Regions from separate parts of the Homo sapiens genome. Here region 1 is linked to region 2. The links are contacts of gene promoters, found by promoter capture Hi-C in blood cells and fetal thymus (Javierre and others, 2016). All regions are on one chromosome and are shown on one strand. The core of a region is centred on a gene start or on the middle of the fragment in contact, and the rest is flanking DNA. Distances in the headings are between cores, read along the strand shown.

Evidence for each region. The method cuts DNA at HindIII sites, captures the fragments that hold promoters and counts their contacts. A CHiCAGO score of 5 or more calls a contact.
Region 1: a contact is called between the fragment with the promoter of ACAA2 here and the fragment with the promoter of ARK2N in region 2, in 1 of 17 cell types (naive CD8 T cells). The highest score is 5.1, in naive CD8 T cells.

Annotation. Positions count from the first base shown.
Region 1 is chr18:49,810,020-49,814,953 of GRCh38, forward strand. It overlaps ACAA2 (acetyl-CoA acyltransferase 2), which reads right to left and starts at 3,514. Exons shown (of 10, transcript NM_006111.3): 1 at 3,450-3,514. The coding sequence starts at 3,465. It overlaps SNHG22 (small nucleolar RNA host gene 22), which reads left to right and starts at 4,004. Exons shown (of 4, transcript NR_117096.1): 1 at 4,004-4,043. It also overlaps SCARNA17. RefSeq lists silencers at 3,307-3,426, 3,320-3,614, 3,857-4,026. The HindIII fragment of the contact is 2,119 bases long and covers 2,766-4,884 here.
Region 2 is chr18:46,171,039-46,175,662 of GRCh38, forward strand. It overlaps ARK2N (arkadia (RNF111) N-terminal like PKA signaling regulator 2N), which reads left to right and starts at 2,996. Exons shown (of 5, transcript NM_145055.5): 1 at 2,996-3,292. RefSeq lists enhancers at 2,570-2,619, 2,940-3,199, 3,230-3,279, 3,880-4,009. The HindIII fragment of the contact is 7,725 bases long and covers 2,180-4,624 here.

The DNA of each region.
Region 1 (4,934 bases), core at 2,264-4,763, 3.6 Mb after region 2:
AAATCTGCTCAAAAACAAAGTTTGTAAATTTTTTCTTTAAAGTCGGATAGTAAAAAAACACGGGCAGAACCTCAAGGACTAACAAGTTACAGTCATAGGAGAGGACAGAGAATGGATTTAAAAAAACATTTGCAGAAATAATAAAGAAGAAATTTCCAAATTTGATAAAAAACATAAATTTGTATATTAAAGCTTGGTAAACCTCAACTCTAATAAACACCACACGTAACACTCCACACCCCGTTCTCCTGCAGCTTGGCACATCATTGTCAAACTTTTGAAATCCAAAGATAACAAAAATATATAAAGCATCCAGAAATAAAAATGACATATTGCACACATGGAAATGACCCCTCACTTCTCAGAAACAATAGAGCCTAATTTCATTTGTCTCTCTACAAAGTTCCTTTTATGAACTTCTCCCCTATGTCTCATATTCTAAGAAAGCATTTGATAGGGCAGTGCTAGTAGTGAAATATGCAATATCTACAAAGGAAAGGGTGTGCATGGGAAAATAAAAACAAAAAAAAACCTCCCCTTTACCTATATTACTTCTTATTTGATGCTCCCAGACTGTAAAGGTTAGCTCAAGTAAGACCTTAACTGAACTAAAACAATTATTTTGAACAGAGAAAATGTTCTCAATCATATATTTTTGGTTTGGGTTTTTTTTGTTTGTTTGTTTGGAGGCAGGGTTTCACTCTGTCACCCAGGCTGAAGTGCGGTAGTGTGATCTTGGCTCACTGCAGCCTCAACCTCCTGGGCTCAAGCAATCCTCCACCACAGCCTCCCGAGTAGCTGGGACTACAGGCGAGTGCCACCATGCTTGGCTAATTTTTGTATTTTTTGTAGAGACTGGGTTTCTCTATTTTAAAAAATAATTTGTTATTATTATTTTAAATCTTCATTTTAACAAATAATCTGGGATGTGCAGATAGACTATAAAGGTTTAAAGTTTTTTTTTTTTAATTTCATAAATTGTATACCATGTCAATTTTCATTTGATGTCAATTTTACGTGGATACTAAAAGGTCTAAAACTTAACAATCTTTAACACCAAACTGAAATCTCATTTGAACACCCTGAAAATTCAGAGGCTAAAAATTTCCCAAAACTGAAAGACAGTGAAGAGACCTATTAACCCAGAGTGTAGTGAGTCCAAGTAGCTCCAAGAAAGGCCCTGGAAAGATGTGCTGAGTTGACAATACAGGAAAAGCACCACTAGGAAAGAAACAGGAGCACTACCTTTCTATCACATTGTTAGGTAAATATTCACTTAGAGCAACTTCAGGCAGCAACGAGGGCAAATTAAGGAAAGCTGCGGTGGCATCCAGTTGTTTCAAGATTAAGGTAATTTAGCAGCCCTGTCTACTTGCCTTGAAAAAATACACAAACATTCCCAACAAAGCTAGGAGCAGTAGGAGAGCTATGATCTGTCGAGCGAAAACCTCCTGCCAAGTACTGGGATGGGTGCTAATAAAAACCTAGGAGCCGGTTCTTCTTGTTGACTGAAATCTGACAAATTAATGTTAATCCTTAACAAAATTTAACTCAAATGTGTCCTTTTCCCTATAATCAGTCACATGCTCTTCTTTCTTCCCACCCATCCTGCAAACACTTGGTATGCTGCTTGAGAGAAGTTTATCTTTAATGATTCTAGCTGGCCTGTAACATCACTATTTCAAGCTCAAAGCTTGGGTTCTAGTCACAGCCACTAACTACCTGTGTTATTATACACAACCACTTTACCTCTCTCGACATGAGTGTCCTCCTAATTGCTACAATAAGGAAATGGAAAAAAATACGATCACTAGCTCTAACACTACAGTAAATTGTACCAGAAATTTATAAACTTTATACTTCCTTAATACAGGTGTCAATGTGCATTTTTTTCCTTTTTGGGTTTATAGTATTTGTGAAATTTTCAAACAGGTCTGTATTATAAGAAAGGGTAAGAACCACTGATAAAATATTAAAATGATATCAGTAAAAATATTATTTCCTTTTTTAGAAGATAGCTCATGACAATGCACCTTTTAAATGAAGTGTAAATGCCTCGTCTAAAAAAAATTCACCACGCTGCTTTATGAAGTAAATGTAGTAAATTCAGTCAGGAAGGGCACTGGCAAATGAAATCCACGTTGCAGGAAACTGTAAACACTGCATTTGGTCCCAGAATACGGATTTTTCCCTTGATTTGTTCCCATGCCACTTTGGTTCTTCTCACTTTCAGATCCCCCTAACCAATGCTTAGCTGGCATCTCCACTTGGCTGCTTCACAGGCACCAAAAAGTTTTCTGCCTAAAACTGAATTCTCAATCCTTCTTTCCACATCTATTCCTTTCCCAATTTTCCTCACTCTGTAAAGTGGCATCATCATGAACACGGTTCATCAAACCAGACACTTTTCATCATTCTCGACATTTCCTTCTTATATTTACTCCACCACATCCAATCCACTTTCTATCAAATCCACCTCCAAATCTATCTCAACTCATCCCTCCCCTTTTCTCCCCAATTACACTGCCCCACACGAGTCAAAGCCATCATTTGCTGCTCCCTGGACCTCTACAATAGATCCTTAAATGGTCTCTTCGCCATTACACAGACCGCCCCAAATTCGGACAGAGTGGAAATCAGATCCTGTCATTACCCCGCTTTAAATCCCTGTATTGCCTTCCACTGAATTTGGAACAAAACCCCACCTTCTTACAGAGCCCACAGGGCCCTGGAGCACCAAAATGCTTGGTTCTTAGATCCTGCCAAGCTTTTTCCTGTCTCAGGGCCTCGATATGTATTCCACCTCAATGTTCTTCGACTCGTACATCCTTAAAGTAAGATTCCATTGACTGTGCCCACTTGTTTTGAAAAGGGAGTTTATTACACAGTTGTTTTAAACAAGTTCATAACCCTAGAACTTAGGTATAGAGTGACCGCTCTAATCTAAAGCAACAGAAGGGAAATGGGAGCAGGGCAGGTCTTCCAGCAGAACACCAGCTACCATTTCTGCAGGCCTCTCCATCGATTCACCCGGGGAGCCCTGACCACCGAGGCCGAGCGGCGGGCTCCTGTGCGCAGCTGCCCCGCAGCAGGCGCCCGCGGCCTATGGCGCCGCCCCATTTTTTCTAATACTTGGACTCGAACTAGTGGGGTCACTGTTAGGCGAAGAAAGGAATGACCTCCAAGGTCACATGCAAGCAAACTTTGGTCTCAACTAAACAGGAAATTGCACCGAAATCGCTGTCGCTAGCGCCTTACAAGTAAGGGTTTTCTCCTTAACCCAAACAAGCCTTTCGGGCTGGGTTTTTATCACGTCCGCTCCAAAACCGAGGAGGTTGAGTGAACTTCACCCCACGACCCCGACTCTCCGCGGCGGCCGGAAGCGGAGGCCTGGCCTGGGGAGGGCAGGACCCCGAGGGGCGAGGAGAGGAGGAGGGGGCTGCGCTCACCTCGGAGCAGAGCCATGGCGGCTGCTGGGTCGTCGGCGGCGCGGGTCTGTGGTGTGGGGGACGCTGAGCGGCCGCTCGCAATCACCCAGATTTCAAGAGCGTGGGTGGCGCCCCGAGAGCCACGCCCCTGCCCTTTCACCTACTTCCTGGGGCTCCTTGGCGGGGTCCCAGCGTAAGATGGTCCTACCCCACGCGTAGCGCTGCCCGCCTCACCCCAGCCCGAGGGAGCCCAGGGGACGGGGCTCGGATAGACCACAACGCGCCTTGAGAGCGGACTCTTTCCTCACATCCTCATTTTTAGATTTTCTCCGTTTCCAAACCGAGAGAATTTGGTTTGACACCTCTCACCCATCATATCCTAGCCCCGACAGGCGATGACTCTTCCCCTTTGTCTCCGCCAACACCCTAAACACTGGGCAGGAGCCAAGGGCTGAGGAACTTGGCGCGCGGGCGGCCGCGGCCGCCAGCTGGGGGCGGGACCGAACGTCCTGTGGGCGGGGCGCGGCGGCGGCGGCGGGATTGGCTGGGGCGGGCGGGTGCGCAGTCCGCTGGGCAGAGGCTTGGGCCGCCGAGCTGGACCCGGACCGGTTTTGGGTACTGTACTGGGGGCAGGGCAGAGAGGTGGGCGGCAGTTGGGGTGCGGTGATTGTAGTAGGCTAGGGCGCTTTCGGGTCCCCATTGCAGCCCCCGGATGAGCCCGCAGTATTTTCCTTATATGATCAGGTCCCATTGCGGGCGGCGCCGCTTGCCCGGAGCCTGAGAGGATTATGAAAACGTGGCGAGCGAAATGGGGCCAGGGGACCTGGAGCAGGGGCGTGAGGAGAGTAGGCAGCGGGTGAGGCTGGACGGGAGGGAGGTCTAGGGAGGCCTCTGCCGCGGGCACTGTGAGTCCTGGCCGATGATGACGAGACCACTGCGCAATCTGAGTTCTGGGAACCAGGTGATGGAGTATGTTCTGAGAACAGACTGAGGCCGGGCAAGCAGGAGGCGGCCGCGGCAGGGGAGAGGCGGAGAGCCCCTCGATACCAGGGCTCGGAGGGCCGGGCTGCCTAGCGAGGGCTTCTTTTGAGTGCGTAGGGGTGGTGGGTGGCATGGACGGTTTCTCTGAGTCGTCAGCGAATGCCCCCCCTAGAATCCTGCTTTTCAAACACTTTGGTGACACTCTTGCAATGTTGGGGTGTTTTTAAATCCAAATTTGTATTATGAAAACTTACAAACTTACAGAAAAGTGGGAAGACTTGTACAGTGGACACATATCGACCCAATTGTTAACATTTTGCTATATTGCTATCCACCTGTTCTTCCATCAAACCATCTTATCTTTTTAATGCAGACCTTAGTACTCTACACCCATGAACACATCAGCACACATTATTCATTTACAGTTCTTTTTAAGGCAAAATATCCACGCAATCAAATGTACAAATCTTAGACAAGCTTCACAAATGCTCATGTATAGGCCGGGCGCCGTGGCTCACGCCTGTA
Region 2 (4,624 bases), core at 1,746-4,245:
CGGCCCAGGTTGGTCTTGAATTCCTGACCTCAGGTGATCTGCCCGCCTCAACCTCCCAAAGTGCTGGGATTATAGGCGTGAGCCACCGTGCCCGGCCTGTATTTTTTTTTTTTAGTAGAGATGGAGTTTCACCATGTTGGCCAGGCTGGTCTTGAACTCCCGACCTCAGGTGATCCGCCCACCTTGGCCTCCCAGTGTGCTAGGATTACAGGCGTGAGCCACCACGCCTGGCCTTAGGTTGCCCAATTCTTAGCAATCTGAGATGGAAGGGAGGGGGCAGCCCAGAGCCCAGAAATGAGGGTTCCCTCCCCTCGTCTCCCCCTACTTTCATCATCTCTAGAGTGGTTCTCATAATTGTGTCCATTTTACAGGGCAAATGGTAGAAGTAACCTGCTCAGTCAGGAGAGATCAGGTTACAGTCAAAGCCAGACCAGCCACGCCCTGATGCTACTGTCCAGGCCACCACAGCTGGCAGGTACCTGCTGCAGGCTTAGCCCCAGGCTAGGCGGTATATCAGGTGCAAAAAATGATGGTGAAGAGTGATTCTGACAGGCTTGGCTCTGGCCTCTAGGGCTATGACAGAAGTTGAGAGGATGACGAATATGGTTTAGTAGTAACCCTACAGATAGACCAAGGGCAGACATGTTTGTAGGAGAGTGTGTGTGAGCAGGGGAGTCCTGACCCACAGTGGAAGGCCAGGATGGAGGGGGTAATAAGGGTAGTGGTGACGGGGGTTGTGTCTGGGCTGAGCTGGTTTTATGGGAGAGATGGCATTTCAGGAGCTTGTAGAGCTAAGTATTGGATACACAGAAGACTTTGAGGCAGAAGTAGGATCCCTTCTGCTCCTACAGAAGAAGGGGAAGAAGCAAGTAACTGTACCATTTAATAATGGAAATATAGTAGTAATAAAAATATTAGTAATTAGGATATCAAATGCCCTAGCCTCCAAAAATATACAAAGGCCATTCGACGTAGGAAATTGACTTATTGGTATTAAACAGGAGAAGGGGCTGGGTGCGCTGGCTTACACCTGTAATCCCAGCACTTTGGGAGGCTGAGGTGGGTGGATAACCTGAGGTCAGGAGTTTGAGACTAGCCTGGCCAACATGGTGAAACCCCGTCTCTACTAAAAAACCAAAAAATTAGCTGGGTGTGGTGGCGTGCACCTGTAATCCCAGCTACTCGGGAGGCTGAGGCAGGAGAATCGCTTGAACTCGGGGGGCAGAGATTGCAGTGAGTCAAGATCGCGCCACTGAACTCCAGCCTGGGCGACAGAGCAAGACTCTGTCTCAAGAAAAAAACCAAAAAACCAAAACCAACCAACCAAACAAAAAACAAAGAAACAACAACCACAAAGCAAAAAACAAAAAACAAAAAACAGGAGAAGGACCCAAGATGGTATCTCAGTAGTCAGGGTCCTACTTCAGTATTTCTGCAGCATTGATTAGATCAGACTGTCAAGGAATCTTTTAAAAACTCAATGTATTAGTCCACATTCATTCATTTCCAGACTGAAAGTTGTGATCTTAGTGTGATTTTTCCTTTTCTTTTCTTTTTTTCCTGAAATAGGCTGGGCTCTTGTCACTACCCCATAACCTCTCAAATCCCTTGAGGACTCAGGTAGCAGAAAGTAAATAAATGAATGAACGAGTGAAATAACATACACGGATAAACTACTTAGCTAGCACACACTACGTTCTCTGTGATTCTCAGTGAGGCAGTTGGTGGCTGTGGTTAAGAAAGTAAGCTCTGCCTGTGTTGGAATCCAACACTGCCACTTACTTGGATGTGTCATCTTGGGCAGGTCACTCTGTCCCTCAGTTTCCACCTTTGCAATTTGGGACTAGTAACGCCATCCAACTCATAGGGTTGTTATGAGTTGTAATGAGGATTCAGTGGATTTAACCCATTTAAATGCAAGGTGCCTGGTATAATAAAATTATTTTCTTTTCTTAATTTATTCTTGTAGTTGGGGATGAAAAACTCGCACTCCTGTAGGCAGTCAGAAAAAATGAGTGAAGTGGGGGAACTAAGGGGCCTGGTCTGAAGGGGGAGACTGATATTTAGGGGAGTGCGGACCCAGTGGTGTGAGATTTTCAGAATCTCCTCTTGACGGGTCTCATCCGAGGTTCCAGCACAGCTCTGTAAAGGTAAAGACCGTTTACATTTTCCTCCTCAAAGCTTTATTATTATTATTTTTCTTCTCAAAACACTGCTTTGCTTTGGGGGAGCGCGGGTCCTTGGCCAGATCTTGAGTCTTGAGATATGTCTTCAGCATCTCCTGCTCCTCCTTGGGAAACGCTCCACCCGCCAGTGGGCCTGCGCCCTCCTCCCCTTCTTCGGGGTTCGGGTCCACCTCGTTTCCCCCACCCTCCCCAGGGCTGACTGCAAATCGGAGGGCGACTGCAGAGGCGGAATTCGGGGCAGAGCGGGGTCTCCCCAGCGGGCCACGTCCCACCAGCAGGTGGCGGTCGATCTGCAAGGCCTGCAAGGTGCCCGGACAGAAACTTGAGCAGATATTGGTGCCGCTGCCCGAGAAGAGCTCAGCCGAGTCTCCCCGAGCCCAGCTATCGGCATCCGCGAAAAAGCGGGGAGAGAAGGGCACGGGCTCTCCGCTGGAGCGACTCTGGGATTCAGACACCGCAAGCTGCTTTCGGAAGGGCTTCAGGAGGGGGTGAGTACTGAGCAGCGCACAGAAAAGGGAGCGCTGTCCTTTGCTGAAGGCATTGTCCTTGGCTTGCATTGAGTGGCTTTCCCACCCCCCGGGAAAGACATTTCGGGAAGGTGACGGTCTCAACAGAAGGAGGGAGCGCGGGAAAGAAGCCCGGGGAGCCGGCGCCTTCACGCCCCGCGGTCTGCAGCGGGAGGAGCGCGGGTTCCATCGCGCCAGATGGCGCTGTCTGGCTTTTCTCGGGCCTCGGGCGCCAGTCTCCAGAGGTCTCCGGCGCAGCTGCCTCTCTAGCCGGCCGACGCGGGCTCTGTGTTTCCGGGCGGAAGTGAGGCGCCCAGCGGAACGGCCTCTGGTGACATTTTCTTGGGGGCGGCGCGGACGACTGAAGGGACTTGGTGGTAGAGGCTGCGGAGGCGGCGAGGTTCACTTTGGTCCCGGCAGGGGCTCTGACCGCGACCCACTGCTCGCTGCCGGGGCTTGTTCCGAGGAGGAGAAGGCGGCGGTGGCCGTCGCGTCCTGAGTCACCGCAGCGGGGAAGAGTCCCGGCCGGGGGTTCGGTGCGTGCCCCGACGGGGCGCGCGCGAAGCGAGCGAGAAGGCACGGAGTCGCCGCGGAGCGCAGGTGAGGCGGGAAGGGGCGCAGGGCCGCGGCCTGGCTACTGGTCGAGTTGGGGGGCCCGGGTTGCGTCCCAGGGAGGGGTCGGGGCGAATCGGAGGGCTGCGGGCCGCGGTGAGGGCTCTGCGGCGTCCGGACGCTGGGGTCCTAGCGGGCCTGGCTGGTGGGCGCCGGGAACTCGCAGCCTGGATTGCCGGCTGACGCTGGGGCATCGCACCTCTCCGACCTCCTTGCTCGTCCGCCGTTGGTGACCCTAGCGTCCTCCCGGCCCGGCGGAGTTGGCTCCGGCACTCCAAGCCCCCAGACGCTGGGGCCGGGTTGAGGCGAGTCCTTTTCCGGGGGTGCTGAGGGGAGGCTGGAGGTGCCGCAGTCCCCGGGCTGCGGGGGGAAGCGACTTCACGGCCCTGGAGTTGTCTTCACGCAACTTTCCGGCTCCTAGGCCCGCGGGGGAAGCAGTGGCGGCAACTCCGCCAGCTCCGAGAGTAGGGGGTCTGGCGCCGACACCTGCCCCTGCAGCGGAGAGCTCCGGCGCCGCGGCCGCAGTGGCCTTGGTGGAGGGAGAAAAGGCTTTCTTATAGGCTTGGCGCCGCCTGCCTCTCGGCGCTTCCACTACCTTCGGTCGGCAGGCGCCTCCAGTCAATGCGAGAGATGTGTCAGTCTCCAAAATAGACCGCTTCTGGGGAGTTTGTCAACTTTATTTCAAAACCGGCGAGGATGTACACTGACGAACCCGTGTTAAAGACTATCGCCTTTACGCAAGCCATTCATTCTCACTTTAAAATTGTCCACCCCCCCGCCCCGACCCCCGTCCCCGGCAGCCCCCATCACAAAATTGATGCTCACAGGTTGAAGTAGAGAACATCGGTACGAGCCCTACCAGATCCTTGAGCAGTTTCTGTTTGGATGGGTTTTTCGTTTTTTGCCTGACCTTTTGCTTTCTGAATCCTCTTACCCAGTAGAATTAAAATCCTACTGATGATACTTCGTCAAGGTTGGACCTCTTAATTACAAAAACATCTGCCAATTTTGCTTAGGCTTTTATTGTGTAGTATTGGGTACATGCTAACAGAATCACTCCCTTTCTTCTCTTGGGATATTTTAAGGATGGAAGCTATTAACTTTCTAATGTAGTTTTGCTGATCTTGGCAATCTAGATTCCTCCAGTAATCAGAGCATTGCCTTTTGGTTTAACAAGCATTTTTAGAGGCCTACAATTGATAGTTACTGCCTGATGTCCTGAGGAGTCTCAGGACAAAAAAAAAAAAAACACATGGTTCAAGCAGTTATCCTGCCTCAGCCTCCCGAGTAGCTGGGATTACGGGCACGCGCCACCACGCC